7 separate regions of the Homo sapiens genome follow, and all the other regions are linked to region 5. Evidence: promoter capture Hi-C in human tissues and cell types (Jung and others, 2019). All regions are on one chromosome and are shown on one strand. The core of a region is centred on a gene start or on the middle of the fragment in contact, and the rest is flanking DNA. Distances in the headings are between cores, read along the strand shown.

Region 1 (3,389 bases), core at 214-2,713, 470 kb before region 5:
GCAACAGTGTGAACATGACTATGAAGAAGAAAGAATGGATTTCCTGAATGAATCCTTGCCATCTGGTGTTTGTTTAATACACAATGAAGGTCAAATGGCTACTGATCCTTTTTTCTATAGTCCAGTGACTACAAGAATGAGAGGAATCAATGAGTTTATCGATATGTCTGGAAATGACTCACCATATGATCTGATTGAGTCAATAAAACTCAAGTAACTTGTCATTACTCTTTCAAATGTGGTTTGGATATGGGACTAAAATTCTGTATTTCTTTTTAAAAGCCAGTTTGCTGAATCAAATGTGGCAGGTACTTTTTTTCTAGATTAATGTCATGAAGCATTTGATTTTATATGTATGCATGTATCATAGGAAACATCAGGAGGAAAATTTCTCATAAAGCTAAATGTTTCTCCAATCTTCAAATAGATCTATTCATCACTTGTTTCTGTTGAATGGTGGTGGATCAAATAAATCTTTTTTCTTCCACTGTGCCTTTTCTCTGTATGAGATTGATTACAAACCTATTTTATATAATCATTCCTAGGGGACCTATTAACTTTTGGCAAAATATGTTAATTTAATCATTATATGTAAACAGCATAAGTTTTGGGTATGTCATATGTAAGTGGAACATATTATTTTATATTATGTTCCCTTTCCTACAGGTTGTTTCAATAATGTACTTCCACAGTGTGATCTTGGAACTCTTATCATCTACTGCTGAAGTTGCAGGGTTTTCTGTTGAGTTCTTTTCTAAAGACTAAAATAAAAGATACTTTTCTCACATTAATATTTCTCAGCTGCCATGAAAACAGGGATAGGAGAAGCCAAAAATAGAGGAGCCAGCTGTGGGAGGCTGCTTTTTTTTTTCAGGACAACTCAGAAAAGTCTTTCAAATTCATTTCATAAAGAGTGTGTTAATGCAAATACTGTTTTACGTGCCTGCATGCTATAGTTTAGAAGCCGACATATACTCAGCTGTCTCACGGTGAATGTTATCTAACTGTTGTAGAGGTAGTAGAATTATTAAGTTTGTCTCTGTGGTAGATCCATTTAGGATTCTTTACCCTTTCTCTTGAAAGTACTCTCTTCTCTGATGCTAGCTAATTAAAGTAGGAAAGGGGTGATTATGAAAAAAATCATCTTCTTCCTCAAGTAGACCCAATGTGTTTTATTCTAGTTCCCACAAATTTTGTTGTTGTTTTGACTTTTTTCACCTGAATATCAAATATTACATGATCCCCTAACTATGCAAAACAAAACAAAACAAAAACCATCATTCAAGCCTGCAAAGGCACCATGTTTAATACATTGGCCTCCTTCATTTTGTTATTCATTTTTTTCTTTATGTAACTTAGGTAATAATGCAAATAAAATTTTATTCCATACTATTTTTTGCATAACATTTTTTCCATAAAACATTATGTCCATGAAGCCTTATCTGATCTACTCTTTTACCCAGGTAGAATGGCTATTCCTTCCTTTGTGCAACCACTGTGCTGTGAAGCTATATTCCAACCTTTACAATAGTGTTTCTAACTCAATTAAAAACTCTAGAGGTTTTTAACCTCTAGTACCTTTAGCATAGTGTTTTAAATTTTTATTCATCAGATTTTTAAATACTTAGAAAGTCTTATATGTGTTTAGCAACATAAAAAATAGGCATCTAAGATTAAACCTATAGACAACATAGATATTCTCCTGACACTTAGAATTGCCCATCTACTGAAGATGTTAAGACAGTCAGTTGATAAGACAGAAATGTTGTAAAACTGTTTCCTGTTTCCTGGCTGGAATTTAAATTATACAATGTACAAGTGCCCTTAAAACTTCAAGATACTAATATTCTGTTGGGTTGACAGATTAACTGCTTAGTGGCTGGGCATACCTAGCCTTGACATATAATGTCAGTGAAGTTGTATGATTCATTACTGGATATGAAATGACATTAGCTTTTTTGACCTACTGGCCATTATTTAAAGGTCCATATACATTCACCTGGCCTCAGAAGTCTGTTAGCAGCAAGTGCTATTCATGTAGGTTGACAGGCCAACAGGGCAGTGGATGCTCTGCTTACACTTCGAGGTAACTTAGAAGATAACTGGATTTAGTTGGGGCTTGAAAATTCTGAGTAGAGAAATGACTTTCAGATTAATTGCCTTAGATTTTATCAAGGTGAAAGGTGCAATAGAAATGTCAAAATGTGATTACTGTTATTATATTTTCTGTTATCAACAAATAGCTTTACTTCTTATGACTCATTTATTCAAAAGTTGGCATAAAACTAAGAAGCAGTTCTATATTCAAACTTCGAATAAAGAAAAAGTAAATTGGGGATTTATTCAGCATAAATCGACTTTATCATATATAATTTTTGTCAGATCCATGAATTTTCACTCTATGGCTATTTTGCCTGCTGTTCTTTTTTGAAACAAAAAAATATGTGGGTACATTTAGTTTTAACAGACAAATGTTGGGATTATGCAAATAACTAGTAATTTTAACTTTAGGAAATCTATTATGTCTCTACTATACTTGCTGGTCATTTTTTAGGATATGATTCATTAGATTAAAATGTGTTTCTTCATCCATTTTTCATGACTCTTTTCCTTTGGTTAGTAAAGGCTGACATTAAAAAATATTACGCCTGAAAGAAATAACCTTATATCAAACCATCTTAGCAAAAACAATTGCCTGAATCACTGGATTCTGGCAATTCACTGTGACCAACAAAAGTCATAATCCCTTAGTCATATTTACTAAAGATATCCGCTTCTCAGAGTTAGCTTCCTATGTTCTTCCACCGCTTTTGATAACTAGTATAAACTAAGAAGAACATTTCCTGGTTTTAAGTACACTTAAGAGTTCATAGTTTTCCATAACAACAAATTATAAGAGAAAGATAGTTGATTTGTAGTCATGAGATTAAATTGTATTAAATCTGAGAGCTTATTTCCTTAAGCACACTCTGAAGGCGTTTATGTCTGGAGCTTACAGGTTTTTAGTATTTAACATTGACAAGTCACAGAAGTTATAAATTCCATTTTAGAATACCATTGATTTGTGTTATCTGAACCCTATGCCTCCCTCCCTGTGGACATATTTTATTTAAGGTTACATTTTCTCAAAAGGGTCCTATGCAAGATACATCAGAAATAGAGTCTTTAGATTGTTATATTATTATTATTATTATTATTTATGATTTTCCTCTGGGCTGGCCTTGAAAGCTTGAAATTCCATAGTTTTGCTTCCTTGAAAAAATTATCTGTGCAATATCACTTTTTTTTAGATGGAGTTTCACTCTTGTTGCCCAGGCTGCAATGCAACGGTGCAATCTCGGCTCACTGCAACCTCAGCCTCCAGGGCTCTAGTGATTCTCCTGCCTCAG
Region 2 (3,023 bases), core at 154-2,653, 380 kb before region 5:
GTTGAATAAATTTCATGTGGTGGGTACTGGTACTATTTCTGAAGTCTGAAGTACTTTATAAATTGAGAAATGCAAACTTTCATTTAATATCTTTATTCAAAACAAAGAAATATCTTAGTTAAGTTATTATATTAAGTCAGTTAATCACAAAGGTTTAACCAGGATTTCCTTATTTATGACTTATTTGCAAAGAAAAGGCAAAAGGAGTGTAATATGTCTGCAGGGGGATTATTTTCTATTGATGGATGTCTGTTGACAGAATCCTCATCATTTCTTGCCAATTTTCTCAAAGAACATTATGACAACTGCTCACAGCAGGCAGAGTCAGACTCCAGAATTGATTTTGGCAATCTATATTGATCATATTGTTGATGATCTTTAAAACATCTTGCTGTCCCAGGCTTGACTTACGTCAAAGAGAGCTAACCAATCTATCTGATATCAGTATGCTCATGCCTTTACCAAATCTTGAATTCTGAAAATAAAAGCATTGAAAGTAACTTGTAGTTGTCATCAATATTTAAGAGTCATCTTTAGCCAAAAAGCATCAGCAAGCTAACAGAACATTTTATAAAGATGCTGTTCCCACTTTACTCAGCTGCATAATGACTTCAGAGATCCATAAAAGGAAAACAAGAGTGGAGCCTATTATCTCTGAGGTTCTTATTTCACTTTTGTTCTTTGTGCAGGAAAACAGAAAAAAATTGAGGGCTGCAACAGAAGAAAAGGAAAAGGAAAGGAAAAGAAGGAAAGAGGAGGCAAAAAAATAGAATAGGGAATTTTCAACTGTTTGCCACTTTTCCTGGTAAAATATTTTTTAAAAAGATATAAGAAGACTAATAACAGAAAAATGGGAAATTTGAAGCCAAAATGACATTGATGGAAATAAATACATACATCTATCTGTATGTTTGTATGTGTATGTATATGCATATCTGTACATGTGTACGTATATACGCAAATATAGGTATATTAACGTATCTGATTTATTCAGTGTTCCTTCAAGAGCACAAGGAAACATGTTTGCATATATTTTCTTAAGTCTTATTGCATATTGCCCACCTTGCAGAAGGAAAAAATAAAGCACAGAAAGAATAGATGAATATAAAGTCACCAAGTCAGTGAAAGAACAGAGAGAATTTAGTTCCTTTGAGGTTGAATCAATGAACTACCCATTAAATTATATCGTTTTCTAAGGCACGAGAGATATGACATGTACTGCAACATAAGACAGTGCCAGGAGTCTGATGGTTTTATTTCACTTAAAAACAAATTAACCTAAAAGGATTACTTGACTTTGAAATCCAGATTCCATGGCTAAATGCCTTACACTGGTGTGCATTTCCAAGACAGATAGGGCCTAGATTTAGGACTAAGGGCTCATTTGTCCATTCTCTAGATATGCTAGTTTGAGTCAAGAATGTCTTCAGCATGTGTACATCAAGTCAGACTTGTAGAGTATATCTCAAACATAAGAGTTTTATGTTATTTCTTTTTTTTTTTTCAAATGAATTTGGACTAAAATGTTAACAAAATTGGAAACAGCTGTGTTAAGAAACTACTTTCTTTTCCATTTATAGTCTTGTCGACCAATATAAACTTCATCATTTTAGTGGAGCTTCTCCCCCACATCCAGATGTTATGGATTTCTCAATAATCTTCAGCAAAATTGCCAAAACCAACAAGAAGTTTTAACATGTAAATTCAACACATTGTTTCATGCTCATCATGGCCTTTTCTCCATCAACCCCATCCTCATCAGATTTCAGATGCTCGGCAGTTGACACAGCTACAGCAAAGGACTCTGAGTCATCATCTCATTGTGGGATGGGTTCCTTTTAAATTTTTTTTGTCTGATTCATGAACTGCTTTTTGAAAATCTAAAAATGGTTCATGAATTGCTTGGGAGTTGGCAAAAATTAATAATAATGAGCCCATTTTGAGTACACTGAAATGAACTGATTATCATTGCAAGCTGTTGCTAATTTGGATTCTTGATGGCAAGAAAGGGTTCTACAGGAGACTTTTCACTTGCAAGTAGGACAGATTTCATGGTGTGGCAGATAAAACATTTTTGTAACCTTTACCTCTATGTTTCCTTTTAGGGTTATGGTGGGATATGTAGAAATAATAGACCAGTTATCAAGACTTAAAAAATTAGTCATACTGGGAAAATGATAGAACCAACAGCCCTTTATAAACTAGTGGTAAAATGCAGGCATGTCATGTAATCCCAGAATAAGGCTTGGGTGTTTTCGCAAATGTTAGGAGATTATGTTCTGCAGAATAAGCATGGATATATCTGGTTATTTTATCCTAATTTATTAGCCACATATTGTTAGTTTTGCTCATATCAGTTTCTAATCATTTTCTCCTAAACTTTCAAAGCTATTAGCTTTAGCATCATCCTTCAGTTGAGATTTTCACAGGGTAAAGTATATGTTACGCATGAAGTAAGAATTCCTCTTGCTTTTGTTTCATGAGAAAAAAGTAGGGTAAAGGTTGGTGGGCCACACATGTTACTGGAATATATGAAATATCAGAAATGACATTTATTGAAATATCAGAAAATGTTTTTGGCATAATTTGGGGAAAAACAAAACAAATATAAAGCAAAAATAAATCCTTTTTGCCTTCTTGAACTTCTGAAATCAAATATTTTGAAACCTTGTTTTCATAGTAATCATGTACCTGGAAGATTGTTTTATGTTTTGAAACTAAGTAAATTATCTTTGAAAGCAAAAACCTATGCCTGCAAAATAATCGTGAAAGATATAATTTGACCTCATGTGGTTGAATACACAATGAGATGAGTTACTTTAATTTGGAGTTGAATTACCATGTATAAAATATCATGAAATAATTAAACTTAGCACTTAGAGAAATCATACTATCCCTCACCATATTATAGCCATGGGAAAAGTAAACCTTTTGACTAAACTATTCTTAATCCAACTACATAGAAAGGGCAATGAAAATCTCTTACAGTGCTGGAAATTTCTATTTTATGTTGCATGTGGAGC
Region 3 (3,469 bases), core at 641-3,140, 500 kb before region 5:
GAAATCTTGGCTTGATATCTCTTGGTTCTAATCTCAGCTCTTATTCTTAATAGCTGTATTACCTTGAACAAATCACTAAACTGTCCTTCGATTCCCTTATCTGAAAATTGGGGAGTATAATCACACTTACATTGAAAAGTAACAGAAATAATAAATGTAAAGCATTTGGCAGAGTATTTGGCTCATAGTAAACCATAATAAATGCTAATTATTATTATTCAATAAATGGGGATTTAAACAAATGGCTAACCACATAGTAAACAAGTTAGGTCTCCCTTATGCCTTATGTAAAACATAGAATCAGATGGATGAAAGAGTAAATATAAAAAAGAGAATTCTAACAGTAGGAAAGGAAATATATATGAATATTTATAATAATATTGTGGTTGGGGAAAGCAGGAAACACAAAGCCATAGACCTATGAAAGACTGTTGAAAAATTTAAACTTCTGATAGAAAAATAAGGATAACAATAAAAGACACACAGCAGACTAGAAAAATATTTGTAGTGTATAATACAAAGGGTCATGATAATTTACATAAAGAGTTCCTATCATCAGTTTTTCTAAAACATAATGTTTGATCAGGCAGCTAATAAACACAGATGGTATATATTGCGAATTCATTGCTCTGTGTAGTTTCAGAGCCTTCTCAAAATTTATCTCAGGTAACTTTTTCTGTATATAAAGGAATCAACTTAAATGTTACTTCAGTAGAAAGGCCTCTTCTGATCTTCAATCTAAATATGTTTTTTTAAATTTCCTTCTCATGGCATGTATTTTTTGTGTGTATGTGTCATAGCTCTTGTTCTTTATCACATGTTTATATCTGTTGGTTTATAACCATTTCCCCCTCATTAGACAATAGCTCATAGGACTGGGTGTATAGTGTTTACACTCTGTAGTAAGTCCCAAACATATAATAGATATTGAAGTAATAAGATCATTTAAAGGATCCAGAACACTATGTTAAAGCATTTAGCCTTTACATCTAAAACAGTCAAAGAAGAATTTTAAGCAGGGTTAAGCCTTATTGGGCTTCAGTGAAGGGTGAAGCATGAAATGGAAAGTATACACTTAGAGGCCAGGTGCTCCTTTAGAAAAGGGATTGAAACAATCTAAGAAACTGGGAAGATCTAAACTAAGGAAGTTTAATGCCAATATAGGAATAATTCCAAAGATACTTAAAATTAGGTGATTTTAACTGAAGTAGTGTATGCATAAAGGGAAACAATGAGAATAAAATTTGATTTTGGATTTTAGAGCAGACTGTAAAATTTTGATGCTATACCAAGACATTTGTAATTTTTCCTCTGAGAAGTAGAAAGCCGATGAAGAATTTTGAAAATTAAATTTTGTCTTTCATTTGCTTACTTGTATGTTTTAAATCATCTTGATTATGAAGACTAAGTTATTGAAACACATGAATTAGACTTCTGAGGACCATAGGAAAGTTGAAGTTTTAGTTCTGTGAGTTACTACTCTCAAATTTAGCCATAAGTATCTAGAGGCAAGGTCATCTTAATGAAAAATTTTGGGATCCTGACAACTATTGTCAAATGAACTTCCTTTATCATCATTATCATTACCACCACAATCATCATCAACATCACCACCCCCAACGACAATAATGGCAGCAATGACAACCACAACAACAACACACATTTGTTGGAAAATTATGTAAGATACTGCAGTAGGTTCTTGAGTACATAGAAATCTGGCATAGTCCCCGACATCGAAAAAGTAAAATATGTGCATTAAAATAACACTAGTCATGTAGAGGAGCATGTGATAAAATGAGTAGTAAGGAAATAATTTATTCTGGAGTTTAAAGAGAGAATTGTTTGTGGACCGAAGTGTCTTTAGAAAAAGGTTGATGGAGCAGGTGACACTTGAATTGGTCTTTGAGGAAGAAACACATTCAGATAAATATAAATATACCTACTGAGACAGACGTACTACAAGACAGAAGAGGAAGTTCCTACGGCCTCTTCTAAGGACAAGTAGACCAGTATACAAATAAGAGTGCTTTGACCATACCTTAGAGTTCATAAGGAAAACTAAAAGAAATATTCAGAGAGCTGGATAGAAACAGATTTTAAAGTATTTCGAAAATAAGATACTTTACTACAAATAAAGAGTAAACTAAGGTTTATTTTGAGGAAAGTGGAGAACCACTTACATGTTCAGAGCAAAGTAGCTACTTGTAGAAAGTTGTGTTTTAAGATTTAGAGAATGAACATAATGAGCATGTTCAACATGAAGCTTAGGGGTTAAAATTCTGGTTAAAGAAACCACTGTGATGGTAAGTTTTTTTTTAGTACAGGAAAAGGAGAACCTGATGTAAGAAATCAGAAGAATGGAATAATATGAATTTCTTTCTCTTATCTTTTATTAGGAAAAATTTCAAACAATATTAAAGAGAATATAATGAACCCCCAAATATTCACCACTCAGCTTCAAAAATTATCAATTCATGACTAATCTTATTTTATCTATATTCTTGCCTACCTACTTTACCTCCAGATTTTTTGAAGCCCATCATCATTTCACTTCACCTATTGATTTAATATAAATTTCTAAAAGATAAGGAATAATGAAAAACAAACAACCATAATACCATTTTCATACCTAAAAAATCAATAATTTTTAACAATCCCAAACATGCAATCAGTGTTTAGATTTCTTCAATTTTTATATAAAATTTCTTTATAATTAATTTCTTTGAATTATTGTCCAAATAAGGCCCATTCACTTGAGTTGGTTTATGTTTCTGAAATCTCTTTAAATCTTTAGTTTCATCTTTCACCTCTTTTTTCTTGAAACACAGTCTCTATTTTGCTGACCACATACTCAGGGTAGGATTTGCTATGCACTTCTGTTCCCTATGTATTCCTGAAAATGGTGGTTGAATTTAAAATCTTGAACAGATTTAGGTTCAATTTTTTTTTTTGGCCAGAATTGGGCCAGGCACCATGGCTCATGCCTATAATCCCAGCACTTTGGGAGGCCGAGGACAGTAGATTGTTTGAGCCCAGGAATTCGAGACTAGCTTGGGCAACATGGTAAACCCTGTATTTAAAAAAAAAAAAAAAAAAAAAATTTAGACGAGCATGGCGTGCCCCCTTAGTCCCAGCTACTTCTTTGGAGAGTGAAATGGGAGAATCATTTGAGCCCAGAAGGTCGAGGCTGTGATCTCGCCACTGCACTCTGCACTCCAGTCCAGGTGAACAGAACAAAACCCTTTCTCAAAAAAACAAAAAACAAAAACAAAAAAAACAGAAACAGAAAACCAAAATAATTGTTTATAGGTTGTGTTGTGTACTATTTCATTGTCTTTTGTTTCCCTGTTGGTATTATAGCAGTTATTACAAAATGGCGATATTCTACTTCAATCTTTTATTAACTGAAATACTACTATAACATGAAACTTCTCATAAATAATTTGATTACACTGATTTATAGCTCATT
Region 4 (3,490 bases), core at 509-3,008, 410 kb before region 5:
TCTCATACATGGTCAGACACTAGTTATTATGTTACATTTTCTCTACCAAGTTAGAAACAATAATAGATTTTCTCTCAGCATTCACGTGAGACTAAAAAGAAAAAAAAAGGTGTTTAAACATGAGGCAGGAAGCATCACTTAGATAAATTCAAAAGTAAAAGGACTCATGTGTCCAAATTCTTAAGAAGAGAAAAAAAAAAAACTAAATATTCTGAAATGTTCCTCTGTGCATACTACTTTCCATGAATTTCAGTTGAGAGTTACTATATGCTATTAAACACCATTTTAAGCAGCAGGTTATACTCCTTGGTATGACAGGGAGCACAGAAATAAAAAGTGAGGAAGAAAAAAACCGTGAAAACATAAAACTCTGAGAGCATTATTTGTCTAGTGTTGTTCATCTACTTACGGACATTAGTAAAAAGCAATTTCAAAAATCTGTGCACTGCCGATCTGGGAACTGAAAAGACATATGGATTTCCCTGGCCTGGGCCGTGCTTCATAGTGATTAGTAAAGTCCTGTTATGTGAACGTTTGAAATGATTCAATCTTGACATTAAACTAATTGACAAAAAAGAAGTTTCATTTGGCAGTATTACCACCCTTGTTGCTATTATTTAGCATTTGTGTGGCATGTTGTTCTTGCATATTTCTCCACAAAATCCTTATATAGTGAGAGCAGTTCTTTTTTTTCTTCATTTACAGATTAAGATTTAAATGATTTCCTTAAGTTAAAAAACTCAAGTATTTTATCAAATCAGGATTCGAATTTAGCATTTTCAGAAATCCAGCCATTTGTTCAGTTTCTTATTTTAATAACAAGCTAAAATGACTAGTTCATTCAACTTTACTCTTTTTAAATCTATACCTCTTGAAGTCTACGTATCTGCTTTGCTAAATATGCCATGCTTTTTATCATTCCAAGTCTTTCTTTTCGTGCTTTGTGACTTATGTATAAGGGAAAGACTAAATGAGTAGTATTTCCCAGATATTAACCAAACTACTCCTTATGGTTGAAGACTACCTGTTTCAGAATGGCATTTACAATACTTGCTTCCATATGCCCCCAGATTCAGATGATCTCTAACAAGCCAGTATTATATTTCATCTCTGTTAAAAAAAATACAAAAAAAGTGCAAACCTTCTCCCACTTCAACATTTTCTCAACATTTTTTCTTGTGAAAATTCTGAGAGCCTTCTTGTCTCATAATTGCCTTCATTTTTCTGATACATAAACTGCACCTCAATATTTCCATTCTGTTAAGGGGAAATCTTTGTGTTATTTTTTGACTGAAATTTCAAAAGCTGATTAGATTATAATTAGCTTGCTATATGCTCCATTTCTTGGTTTCTATTTTGGTTTGGAAAATAAGATTAACAATCTAGATTGGACAGTCAGGTTCCTGTTCTGAAGCTGCTGTATAAGACTTGCCCCATAGGGTAGAGGCAGAAATGTGAAGAGACTTGCCAAAGAGCAAGTCATTTCCACTGTCTCAAAGCTTTATTCTGAGTATCTACAGCCAGACAAAGAGCTTCAGTGACACTGAAGGATTTTGTCAGCTCTGGAGAAGCAATTTTGTTTGTTTGTTTGTTTTTTGAGACGCAGTCTCACTCTGTTGCCTAGGCTGGAGTGCTGTGGCGTGATCTCGGCTCACTGCAAGCTCTGCCTCCCGGGTTCACGCCATTCCCCTGCCTCAGCCTCCCGAGCAGCTGGGACTACAGTCGCCCATCACCACGCCCGGCTAATTTTCTTGTATTTTTTTTAGTAGAGACGGGGTTTCACCTTGTTGGCCAGGATGGTCTCCATCTCCTGATCTCGTGATCCACCCGCATCGGCCTCCCAGCGTGCTGGGATTACAGGCGTGAGCCACCGCGCCTGGCCGGCAATCTTTATTCTAACGAAAAGACTGAACTCTTGTCACAGCCTCAACCATAAATTCATCATCTCATTAAAAGAAACATTACAAACACCAGAATTCCAATAAAACAAACAGATTCCTTAGGAAACCTCTTTTTAACAGAGCAATGTGCCCTACAACACAGTATGAATATCAGAACAATTTGTACTTGGCAATCACATAAATAGTTTAGGGCATATAGCCCTAAAAGTAAATTGTGGATAGCTATTTGGGGGAACAGCACTAAAAGAGTGAACTCTGTCGATGAGATAATCTAGCAATCTTTCCGTTTCAGTGGTAGCTTATTATATGCCTCAATAGAGATTCCACAATTTCTAAATGATTACCAGTAGATGTTATTAAGAAAAAGTGTCTTCAATATGCCATCTCATGTATACCAGAAGGATAAGCTTATTTGTTAGCATCAAAAAGCCTCTTAAAAAAAAAAAGAAAACAACTGTATTTTCCTTTCCAAAATAATGTGAGGAATGTATTCAAAATATGTAAGAAGCTATGAAGAAATTAGTAAGTAAAATGACAATTCAACAACATATTTTATTATGGATTTCAGTTTCTTGTTAACCTAAACTGAATTGAATGGTTTATAGAATCTCCCTAAAGTGGACATATTTGTTTAATTTTGCTTTAAAAATAAAAATGTAGCCCAACTAATGTGTGGAAAAAATGTTAAAAATTTAAATATGCTTCTTGGCCTCTTCCTCTAGAAGATAAGAAAACTATTTGAAACTCAGTAGTTTTAATGATTTCTGGTTAATAATCTTTGACCTTAAGATATGACATTATTTCTACTACTGAAGAGAAAATCACAGATGTAGAATTTATCAATTTACTGCATCTATCCGATTCACATTCTGATTTTGAAAATGAAACAGTATATTATAGTGTCAAAATGAAAGAAAATAAAAAGGCAGCTTTAAGAGCATTTGGATAACTTAACTATAAGTCGCTACAGGCAAAGCTGCTAAGATTTTGTAATTTTTTTTAGTTGGTAGATTTTTTTTTTGCACTTTACTATCTTTCCTAGTTTCACATAAGTACATAAGTGAGAAAAAAGAACTATCCATTACAGAGCCTCTCAAAAAATCATGTTTTGTTCATCTGCCAGACTTTTTCAGCAAATGTGTCTATGATGAATTTTACTCTTCCCCATCCCTCTCTTTTATTCCATCACCATTTGAGAAAATACAGTTGCAGGATTGGACTTAAATAATTTTTTTTGTGGGGGGTGTTCACTGAGAAACCTGGAAGGCCAGATGAAACATACTTATTGCTATTGAAACTATGTAGGAAGAGAAAAATTCAGGAGAAGATGGCATTTATTAAGACCAAATAGTAAATTACTTTCCATTATTTTTTCTCCTCATTCTTTGTAATGAATGATCTGTTTTCCAAATTTCTTTTATAAGATTTGTGTGTGTGAGTGTGTGTGCCTGTGTGTGTTGACATTTTTGATAGTCTTCTATGTAGATTTATGAAAATAATAATGTTTAAAACTAGATTTGTAAACCCAGGAATTATGCTCTTGGACCATGATCTATGATTATGCATTACTCCAACTGGACTGTTCTTCA
Region 5 (3,342 bases), core at 1-2,500:
TGCCCTTGCCCGGGTCGTCGTAGTGGCGCGGCACCTTCACGAAGCACTTGTTGAGGGACAGATTGTGGCGGATGGAGTTCTGCCAGCCCTGCTTGTTCTCGCGGTAGTAAGGGAAGTTCTTCATGATGAACTCGTAGATGCCGTTGAGCGTGAGCCGCTTCTCGGGGCTCTGCCGGATGGCCATCATGATGAGCGCGTTGTAGCTGAACGGCGGCTTCTCGTACTTGCCGTTCTTCTTCTCGCCCTCCTTGCCCCCCTCCCCGTCCTTGCCGCCCTCGCCCGCCCCCTTCTTCTCCTCCCCCCCGGCGCCGGCGCCCTTCTCCTTCTCGTCCGGCCCGACGGGCGCCAGCTCCCCCGGCCCGCCGCCCGGCTCGCCCTTGCCGCCCAGCCCGTCCGCTTTAGCCCCGTCCAGGGCGGCGGCCGGTGGTGGCGGTGGCGGCGGCGGGAGCAGCAGCTGCTGGGGGCCCTTGTCGTCGTCGGCGGCCGGGGCGCCCCGCGTCTGGGGGGGCTGCGGTGCCGGGGGCGGCGGCGGCGGCGGCTGCTGCTGCTGCGGCGGCGGCGGCGGTTGCGGGGCGGGCGGCGGCGGGTGGTGGTGATGGTGGTGGTGGTGGTGGTGGTGCTGGGGGTGGTGGCTGTTGTGGTGGCCGTGGCTCGCGTGGTGGTTGTCGTTCTGGACCGCCTCGGGCACCAGGCTGTTGATGCTGAACGAGGACTTGGGGATCATTTTCACCTCTTTCCTATCTCCCATGTCCAGCATCACCCAGTCGTCGGGGGGAAACGGCGGCGGCGGCGCGGGAGCGGGACAGCGGCGCGGCGGGCGGCGGCGACCGGTGGGTGCCGAACGGGGCGCGGGGGGCGCGGGCGGCAGCGGCGGCACTGAGCGCTCCGGCAGCAGCGCAGTTGGACCGCAGGCTCGGGCGCTGGCAAGTCATGTAGCAAAAGCAGCAACCACCCCTCAGGAATTAGAAAAAAAAAAAAAAAGGAAAAGAAAAAAGAAAGAAAGAAAAAAGAAACAACCACCGCCCCGGGGGTGAAGCTCCCTCGCTCCCAACTGTACTTCTTGGTCTCCCCCCCCACCCCCCGCTCCCCCCCCCGCTGCTTCCTCCTCCTCCTCCTCCTCTCGCAGCAGCAGTCACAGCAGCAGCAGCAGCAGCCCAAAGGGGGGGAGAGCCGGGCGGCGGGCGGGCGCGTCCCGGAGCGGCCGCGGCGAGGCTGGGGAGACAGCGATCGAGGCGGCTATAGCCACAATTAATTTTCCGAGCTACAGGCGCACACTAGGGCTGTAAAAAAATTTTTGGTTTAACCTTTCCTACCGCTGGGCCAATCAGAGCTGGCGGCGTGCGGGAGCGTCTCTCTCGCCGTCGACCAATCGGAGGGGCCGGGCCCACCCACCCCCGCCCCGCCCGCCGGCTGCCGCCCCCTCGGGCGCTCGCCTCCCCCTCTCCGCGGGCCTCGGACCCCGAGGCCGCGCGGAGCCGCGTAGGGATACGCCGGCGGGAGCACGCGGTGCCGCAGCCCTTCCCTGCGCCCCCGCCACCCCCTCCACCCCGCCGGCTCCGCTCCACCGAAATTCCCCTCCTAGGGCCAATAGCTCACATTTCCGGCTTCCTCCTCATTGTACTGGGTCATTTTCGTTTAAGCGTCAATATTTGTCCTTAGTGATTAAAGTTTGTATCCAATTTTATTTTTGAAAGCGGGGGTGGTGGTGGTAGTGGGAAGAGTGGGAGTGCAGGGAGAGGATGCGAGAGGGCAGGAAATGGAGGAGGTAGAGGCGAGGCACTACTTTTCCGAGTCGGCCTTGCAGGCCAGTGTCTGGCATTTCTGAGCCAGCAGGAAAATTGTGCCCTTTGTAGGTAATAGTCTAGCGCAGCTTTGGATAAGGGGGGAGATAAGGCCCACCGCTGGCGTGTGTGCGGGGGTGTCCTTTACTTCGGGGGAGGAGGGTGTGGGAGAGCTTTGGGAGCGATGAGATGAGGAGGAGGAAGTGGGCAGAGGAGCGCGGGGCCAAACAGGGGTTACTTACTCGATTCCTGAGGCCTGGGCGGCGGCGAGCTCCGGGCTCCGGCACCGCGGGGAAACCGGGACTGGGGCTCCGGGTGCTGCTGCGGCGGCCGGGGCCGCTCAGTAGTGGGCGCCTCTGATGGCCTTCCGAAATGAGAGGTGCCCAGAGAGAAAACAGTACCAAACAATCTCGAAATAAATCAGGTAACACATGCTATATACGTGTGTCTCTTCCTTTTCCTTCTCTCCTGCTCCAGAGCGTCGCTCACGCGCGGGGTGACTCGATGTCGTTTTCTCCTCGCCGCTCCAGCCTCAGCTTCTAATCCGAATTGGAAGCGGGTAGCTGCGAGCGATCACCCTGGAAATATTTTCGTTTTGCTTGTTGACATTGGAGGGAAAATAAGGGTGGGCGTCTATTTCTTTCCGGTTTTTTTTTTAAGCCTTCCTATTTTCACTCCTTTTTTTTCCTTTCCGTTTCTCAAATGCTTTTATTTTGTGCGGGCCTCATTCCTGAAATAACAGTATACTGAAGCCAGCTCTTGCCAACCCTGAGTGCTGCTGGAAAGCACCGGGGAGCCTTGGGAACGTGGATCTCACAGTCCCAGCTTCTTGGGCTTTGGAACTGGGAAGGTTCGGTTGGAGGTTGAAGTGAATGGGGAAATTGCGAATCGGGGGCTTTAAAAGGATCCCGTGGCCAGGGGCAGGGCTAAGGCCCAGCATTTCCCAGGGATTGGAATTTAGTGGGGAGCACATTGATCAAAGGCTGTTTCATCCCACATGGGCACGAAACATACCACATTTTACGGAGGATGTAGCCCCAGAGAAGAGGGAGGTGGAGAAGCATAAATGAAAGGCACCTTTTCCTTCCTCTAGAAGGTAAATAATTATAAAATGTAAGCATTTCTTCACTTGGATAAACTTTCATTAAGATATCTGGCAGATTTGGTATTTAAGAAAACGAAGGAAGGAAAATTGGTGCTTATGCTTGATCCTAAAGTTAAATTGTAACATAAAGAATGCGGTTGATGAATACTCAGGATAATAGGGGGTTATTCCATCCTCCCCACCCCCAGTCTTAAGAAAGAGAAAGAGAGAAAAGGTTGGGGGGGGGGGAGGAAACTGGAGAGAATAATAGATAATTACAAATAGCTAGTGAATTTTAAATATGCATCTATTAGGAATGCCACAAAGGAGCTTTGAATATTGGACTAACCTCAAATGTCCTTCCACTGTATGTATGTATCTTTACCTATGTCTACATATCTTCTCACTTTAAAACAAACTGTATTTACATGTGGAAAAATTCAAGGGTTCCAACAATCAGTGTTGATAGTGACATGG
Region 6 (3,124 bases), core at 594-3,093, 440 kb before region 5:
AGAAGTTTTTGACTCTCACTAGAAACTTTGCTTTGTAATTGTTCTACTCCCCACCATCATCATCGTCATCCCTTCAAAGCCATTATTTATGTTGCTGCCATCATAATCTGTTGTAAACTATGTCACTTTTCTGCTAAAATTCTTTCAATAATCCCCTACTATCAAGAAAATAAAAATAAAATTCTTCTGTGATTGCTTGAGGAAACAGCTGGAAAATGCAGAACTTTGGAGTCTATTTTGTAAGAAAAAAATATGGGTAGTCTTTAAACATAGTGGTGATCTAGACTGCTTGAGAGATGAGAGGAATGCAATAGTGGGACCACAGAATGCCTCTGCCAAGGGAAAAAGCGCAGAAATCTGAAGATTAGCCCCAACAATGACCAAGAAGAGGGGTAGTGACTAGCGTCCCCACCAACACCCAAACTGAATGGGGAGAGAAAGCCTTGCTCCCTGGAATGTCATAGTCACATACAAAGTAAGTGATTTTTTAAAATTTCAGCTGCCTTTGTTAAAGTGCATCTTAGGATTATTTTCTTATAAGTTCCATAAAAAGAATAACCAAAACTTCACTGTGACCTTTTAGAACCGCTATCCCAGAAATTGAGGGTGAAACCGACACTTAACAATGTGGACTAGTGCAGCATGTGGTCCAGGAAAAAGATGCATGACTGTTAAAAATTGCACATGGATGAAGCTGAAAAACCATCATTCTCAGCAAACTGTCACAAGAACAGAAAACCAAACACCGCATGTTCTCACTCATAAGTAGGAGTTGAACAATGAGAACACATGGACATAGGGAGGGGAACATCACACACTGGGGCCTGTTGGGGGGTAGGGGGGGCTAGGGGAGAGATAACATTAGGAGAAATACCCAATGTAGATGATGACGGGTTGATGAGTGCAGCAAACCATCATGGCACATGTATACCTATATAACAAAACTGCACGTTCTGCAAGGTACCCCAGAACTTAAAGTATAATAATAAAACAAATAAAACAACAACAACAACAACAACAACAAAATTGCACTAGCCATCAGAAATCATTTATTTGACAACCTATTCAGTTCATAAGAGAAATACAAAGAAACAATGAGATAATAAGTGAAAGGCCATGAATAGTTGTGATATATGTTTCAAGACAATGCAGTAAGGTCATGGCATACAACTAATCAGAGCCTCTCAAAGACTATTTTAACTTATTGTATTCATAATAATTCTACATCTATTTTCACAGCTCATAGAATAATAACAGTAGATCACTAGAGGGAAAAACTCTGAGGCAGGTTGCAGCAAGAAGTGACATTAGAGAACAAAGGCTAGGATAGAAAACTAATTAGACATAGGAACTCAAGCATTAAAAACTGAGGATGTTAGTGTAGAGGCAAATAGCATCAGTAATAGCCCTGAGGGTCTTGTATTTGCAAGTAGAGTTTCCAAAATGTGTAACAGAAAAAGCAATGGATTAGAGTTAGAAAGGTCTCTGTTCTAGGCCTGACTCCATCACTTACTGGTGGTGAGGTCTGGACACAATCTCTCAGTCCTCAATTTTTCCATCTACGCAGTGGTAAAAATGACTTGTCTGAATGCTTAATACATTTAATTTTGGGTATTATGGATGTGACATAATACCAAAAACCTTTGTAAATAAGTGTAAAAATGTGGCATTTTATTTCCTTACCAAAATTACTCTTAATCATCTAGTGCATTTTAAATTAACTACATTGTTTATTAAAGTCTGTAGTCCTTTTCTTTTTCCTATCAATATTTTCTCCATCAGTCATCTCAATCAGTCCCATGGATTTAAATATTAACTATTTGTAATTGACTCAAAAATTGGTCTTTATTATCCTGTCTTTCTAAACATCATGGCCAGCTACCTACTTAACATCTTCACTTGGAGATACTCTAAAATTTAATTAGCCTAAAACAAAACTCTTAATTGCACCTTTAACCCAGTTCTTCCTCTTGGCTTTCCAATTGACATAATAGCAATGCCACACTTTGTTGTTCAAACTAATAATCCAGGAGTCATCCTTGAGTTCTCTCTTAGGCACATACCCTGTATACAATCTGCCAGCAACACTTGTTAGCTCCATGTGCAAAAGTTATTTTGAGTCCATCAGCTTCTGTCCATTTCCATTGTTACTACCCTAGCCCAAGTCAGCATCATTTTTCACAAACACTATTGTCATAGCCTCCAAAATGCTTGCTCAGTCCCTCAATCCTTTCTGATTTAGCAGCTTGAGTGATCTTTTATAAACATAAATTAGATCATGTCACACTTCTGCCTAACCCCAAGTTTTCTAACACACTTCTTAGATAAATTCCATTTTTTTGACTCTGGCTCAGAAGGCCTTATGCACCCTGGCTTTTACCTACTTCCCCAGCTTCATTTCCTATCACCTCACACCAATTAGGTGCCATTCACACTAGCTTTCCTTCTCTTTTTCAAACACAATGTGACCTGGGATTATTCTGATTGGCCAGCCTGAGTGACATATCCACCTGTGTGGAGGGAAGATGAAGCCAAACCATTAACAGAGCCACTCAAATCAAATGGAATGAGAGAAACAAGAAACAATTATTAAAGAAGGGATATAAGCCCCATACTTAAAAAACCAGATGTCTATTGCAGTGCTAATCTGCTGGATTTTTCGTCATTAATATAACTTGTACCAACAAATACTGCTTAAATATTCCAGTAAAATTGATCCAATAAAAACCTACCTGGTTAAAATTACGTTTTGATTCAAAATCAATAAACACAGACACAGACAACATAAGCTTCTAATTAGGTATGTAAGTAGGCTAATACAGTCCTGTGGAGTTAGAGTACTTAATTATGTCAAAGGACCATCTAATTATTGTTGACCAGTAAAACATGTCTGTTTCCTTTCGGATTAATCTTTGTGAAAAGTTTCCAGGATCACAGTCCTGTAGTTCTGAAACACGAAAAGAAGTGTCAGAGTTGTTTATAGCACTTGAGCTTTCAAATCCTTTTAATGGCTATTTCAAGGGATTTAGCTACTTGTTCCTTGACTTTTACTATTTGATTATTAATCTTTTTATGATTCATATGGGCTGCCCTAAGGATTAGATATCCCTGAATTTCACCAAGA
Region 7 (3,397 bases), core at 58-2,557, 330 kb before region 5:
AGAGATATTTCCTAACCATATTTTCTAAAAGAGAGTCCCCCTTTCCCTAGTTATTCTTTATCCTCATAATGTTTTATTTAATTTCTAGCTGTTAACCCCACCTGACATTATCATTTGTTTATCATTTGCCTCTTCATCTAGAACTTAAGCTCCATGAGGGCAATATGATGAACCAAAAGGGGAACGATACCTTTTTTTGGTTCATCACTGAGTCATTAGGACCTAGAATAACACCTGACACACTGTAGAGGTTCAACGTCTATTTGTTGAATGATTGGATGTCTACTGTCCATTTAGATATGTAAAATCAGTGCATATCATTTTGTATAGTCATATATACTTTTACAAAGTGTTTGTCCTGAAACCCACTATTCCTAGCTGCTTAAATACCTAGGTCTGCTATTTGGATAGGTGAACACTTGGATGGTTGAATAAAGGAACAATTTAATGCACCATTGTCTTCTATGAACCGCATAGGATAAAAAAATTCAGGTTTTGTTATCAAGAATAACCTCCTGAGTAACTGATTTGCTTTTGTTTCATCATTTAACTAACGAATTGATAAAGTTTATCTCTTAAATTGGATTATGAATAATAAAATGTGTATAGGGCATTACAATATGCCTTTTTAATTAGCCTAATTAAGAGTTTGTTTGTGACCTCAGCTGTTTATTTCGTATCACTTTCTCCTATTTTTGTCTCCTTGCTACATTAGGCATTCAGGTAGTCAGAGTCATGGTCAAGAATACTGCCTCTGGAACCAACTAACCTCTGGCTGAGGCCAACCCAAATTTTGCTCTTCCCTAGCTGGCTGACCATGGGCAAGTTAGCCCAAATCTCTGCACCTCTATTTCCTCACTTTCAAAATAGGGATAACATTAATACCTACATCGCAAACTTGCTCATCCTCAGTGCCGTTATGAGCACCAAATGAGTTAAAACATGCGAAGCACTTGGAACAGTGCCTGGCACATGTTAAAGGCTTGGTAATGTTAGCTATTATTTTATCAAACACTTTAATTCTTCTCTGGAACAAAGTAAGACAAAATAAATGTTTTATATGCTAAACATCTCCTATGAGCCAGGCACTTTGTGGAGTGCTGAGGTGAAGATTAATAAACACATAAAGATATTTTGCATCTGGTATAGGACACAGAGGGAGACATTAATATAAACTGAGATGTCACAGAAAGGGTGACCTCGGTACTGAAGAATGAAGGGAAGATTTGGGAAAAGTAACAGCAACATGCGTACAGATTGGGAGGGGCGTCAATCATGTCTGAACAGTCGGAATATGCCTGGAGAATAGGGAGGAAGGGTGGTGGAAAGAGGTCTGAGATGTGGCTAAAATGGTAAGCCTTCACCAGATCTCAAACCAATTGCTGAGTTTCAGTTCCTGCATATTCAGACATTATTCCCCTCTTTCTGGATTGAGAAGAATCTTCCAGCATTTACTTCCTTTAGTGAAATCCAGTGACCAGCCCCTTTAGAAAGGTAGCTCCTGTGACTTAGTCTGACTTGTTCCCAGTGTATTCGAGAAGTCTTTCCCTAATAGACTCCTGTGCAGCAACTGCAAGAGGAGGTGCCATTTCAACAAGAGGTTAGAGCCCTGACTCTTGGCTTCTTGAGTGTTGCTTTTATTTCACCCTCCTGTTTCTAATGCTACTCTCCAATCGACTGCCTCCAGAAACAAATCCAGGTGTTTCTTAAACTCTTTGAATCGTCTTCTGTAGTAATTTATTCCATATGTTTATTGCTCTGTGTGTGAAATAATTTCATCAAGTTTCTTTTTTTTTATTTGTCGCTGCATTCCAATCAGCCAGCAGTAGAATCCTATCTATGAGTAACACTTTTAAAAACACCAACTCTTGTGCTCAGGGAAGCCAAGGGATGTTGTAGCACATGAGCAGAACAAGGAGAAAAGAACAACAAGCAATTGGGATTGATGACATTCGTTTAAGAGGAAAAAAAGGATTTCAGGAATACCTAGCAGGGGTTGGAGGAGAAGCTTTGCTCAAGTTCTTACTATATTTTGCATTTCCCCAGGGTGTCAATTTTATGAAACAAAGTGACGGGATGATTTCTATCACTTGAGAAGCTGTGTTAAAAAAATCTGATGCACTGGCAACAGCAAAAATTGTTATGGTAGGAATCAAATTGGTGCTTCCTTGCTGGAAATGAACGAAGCACTAGTGCCTGTCAGTTTATTTCTGAGCTCTGCTTTTCAAACTTTAATTTGAGAGGGTGGGAGGAGGTTTAATGGAAATCTGAATCGCTGTTAGAAGAGGACTATATTTTAAACTTTGATTTCATCGTTGTCTCTATGTTCAGAAGAAAATTATTCTTTATACTTAGAAGTGAAAGCACTGTCAGTTCTAAATCTATTAATGAGGGGGTGAAAGAGAGGGGAAAGAAAGGGAGTGCAGTATGTACAAAATGAATAGCTTCTGTAATTAGTAAATAAGACTGTTATTTCCAAATCAATGCACTTGCCTATGTTATACTACAGCGTGAAGGATCTTAAATGATTTACCTTTTAAAATTATCAAAATTTTGTTTTTTAATCAGCTTCTGCTAATAACATCTTCTCACCATGGAGCTGAAGTTTACTAACAAACATTTCACTCTTATCCTTTTGTTCAGGAAACTCTTGCAAAAATAATTGTCATTGTCATTTTTATTTACTGCTCTTCTCTCCAGGGAAAGAAGATATGCCACGGAGATGATGGGAACCAATGGGTTCATTGTGCTCACGGAAAACTAAACGAATGCTTGGATGTTAGTTTACTGTTTGAAAATTCATAAAATGTATATGCTGAGAGTTGATGGTTGGAAATTATAACCATCATGACAGCAATTATGATGGATTTGTTAAGCATTATTTAGGAACCAGGCACTTTGCTCAGCACTGCACATAAATTATCTCATTAGACTGTTTCAATAGCTCTAGGATGTCATTCTAATTATTACCCCCATTTTACAGATAGGAAAATTAAGTCACAGTTAAAATAGCTAATAAATGGCAAAACTGGAATTGAAACCCAAGTCCATCTGCTTCTAGAGCTGACACTTGTAGCTATTTTAAGTTGTGCTGAAAGGTATATTCCAATAATATTATTTTAGAGATACTTTTTATTATATAAATAATTGAATCTGGCTCATAACTTTCTTAAAATGTTTCTTTGAGGCTGAAATTTTCTAAACTTGGTGTCCATCCAACTGTGTGGTGGCAGGAGGCAAAGAAAATACAGCAAGTTCTGGTAGAGGCAGGAACAGATTTTAGGATTCTGTTTAGATTTTGAGACAGGCTGGAGCCTGAACCGGAATCCAAAGCCTGTTGAAACAGAGTTGCCTCTTCACAACAGCATGGAGTAAGAATTTCCATGGAAACTTAACT

What was found. Contacts are between HindIII fragments. The study calls those that stand out against the background at their distance.
Region 1: a fragment that was not itself captured here is called in contact with the fragment with the promoter of FOXG1 in region 5 in 4 of the 25 tissues and cell types used here (IMR-90 fibroblasts, lymphoblastoid cells, mesendoderm cells and 1 more).
Region 2: a fragment that was not itself captured here is called in contact with the fragment with the promoter of FOXG1 in region 5 in 1 of the 25 tissues and cell types used here (lymphoblastoid cells).
Region 3: a fragment that was not itself captured here is called in contact with the fragment with the promoter of FOXG1 in region 5 in 2 of the 25 tissues and cell types used here (IMR-90 fibroblasts and lymphoblastoid cells).
Region 4: a contact is called between a fragment that was not itself captured here and the fragment with the promoter of FOXG1 in region 5, in 4 of the 25 tissues and cell types used here (liver, lymphoblastoid cells, mesendoderm cells and 1 more).
Region 6: a fragment that was not itself captured here is called in contact with the fragment with the promoter of FOXG1 in region 5 in 2 of the 25 tissues and cell types used here (dorsolateral prefrontal cortex and lymphoblastoid cells).
Region 7: a fragment that was not itself captured here is called in contact with the fragment with the promoter of FOXG1 in region 5 in 2 of the 25 tissues and cell types used here (lymphoblastoid cells and spleen).

The regions. Positions count from the first base shown.
Region 1 is chr14:29,239,586-29,242,974 of GRCh38, reverse strand. All of the region lies in intron 6 of LOC102724934 (a long non-coding RNA gene), which reads left to right. Among named protein-coding and RNA genes, the nearest start is that of LINC02326, 180 kb to the right of the region's middle. RefSeq lists an enhancer at 1-1,296. The HindIII fragment of the contact is 6,012 bases long and covers 1-3,389 here.
Region 2 is chr14:29,143,546-29,146,568 of GRCh38, reverse strand. All of the region lies in intron 9 of LOC107984685 (a long non-coding RNA gene), which reads right to left. Among named protein-coding and RNA genes, the nearest start is that of LINC02326, 80 kb to the right of the region's middle. The HindIII fragment of the contact is 5,947 bases long and covers 1-3,023 here.
Region 3 is chr14:29,269,243-29,272,711 of GRCh38, reverse strand. All of the region lies in intron 5 of LOC102724934 (a long non-coding RNA gene), which reads left to right. Among named protein-coding and RNA genes, the nearest start is that of LINC02326, 210 kb to the right of the region's middle. The HindIII fragment of the contact is 5,908 bases long and covers 1-3,469 here.
Region 4 is chr14:29,178,680-29,182,169 of GRCh38, reverse strand. It overlaps a transcript of LOC107984685 not described here. Among named protein-coding and RNA genes, the nearest start is that of LINC02326, 120 kb to the right of the region's middle. The HindIII fragment of the contact is 3,859 bases long and covers 1-3,490 here.
Region 5 is chr14:28,764,695-28,768,036 of GRCh38, reverse strand. FOXG1 (forkhead box G1) reads right to left here and starts at 1,250. Exons shown (of 1, transcript NM_005249.5): 1 at 1-1,250. The coding sequence starts at 757. It overlaps FOXG1-AS1 (FOXG1 antisense RNA 1), which reads left to right and starts at 2,718. Exons shown (of 7, transcript NR_125758.1): 1 at 2,718-2,877. RefSeq lists an enhancer at 1,595-2,119. The HindIII fragment of the contact is 7,501 bases long and covers 1-1,801 here.
Region 6 is chr14:29,206,159-29,209,282 of GRCh38, reverse strand. No RefSeq gene overlaps it. Among named protein-coding and RNA genes, the nearest start is that of LINC02326, 140 kb to the right of the region's middle. The HindIII fragment of the contact is 3,407 bases long and covers 140-3,124 here.
Region 7 is chr14:29,097,550-29,100,946 of GRCh38, reverse strand. The region is part of intron 9 of LOC107984685 (a long non-coding RNA gene); the gene reads right to left. Among named protein-coding and RNA genes, the nearest start is that of LINC02326, 34 kb to the right of the region's middle. The HindIII fragment of the contact is 4,658 bases long and covers 1-3,397 here.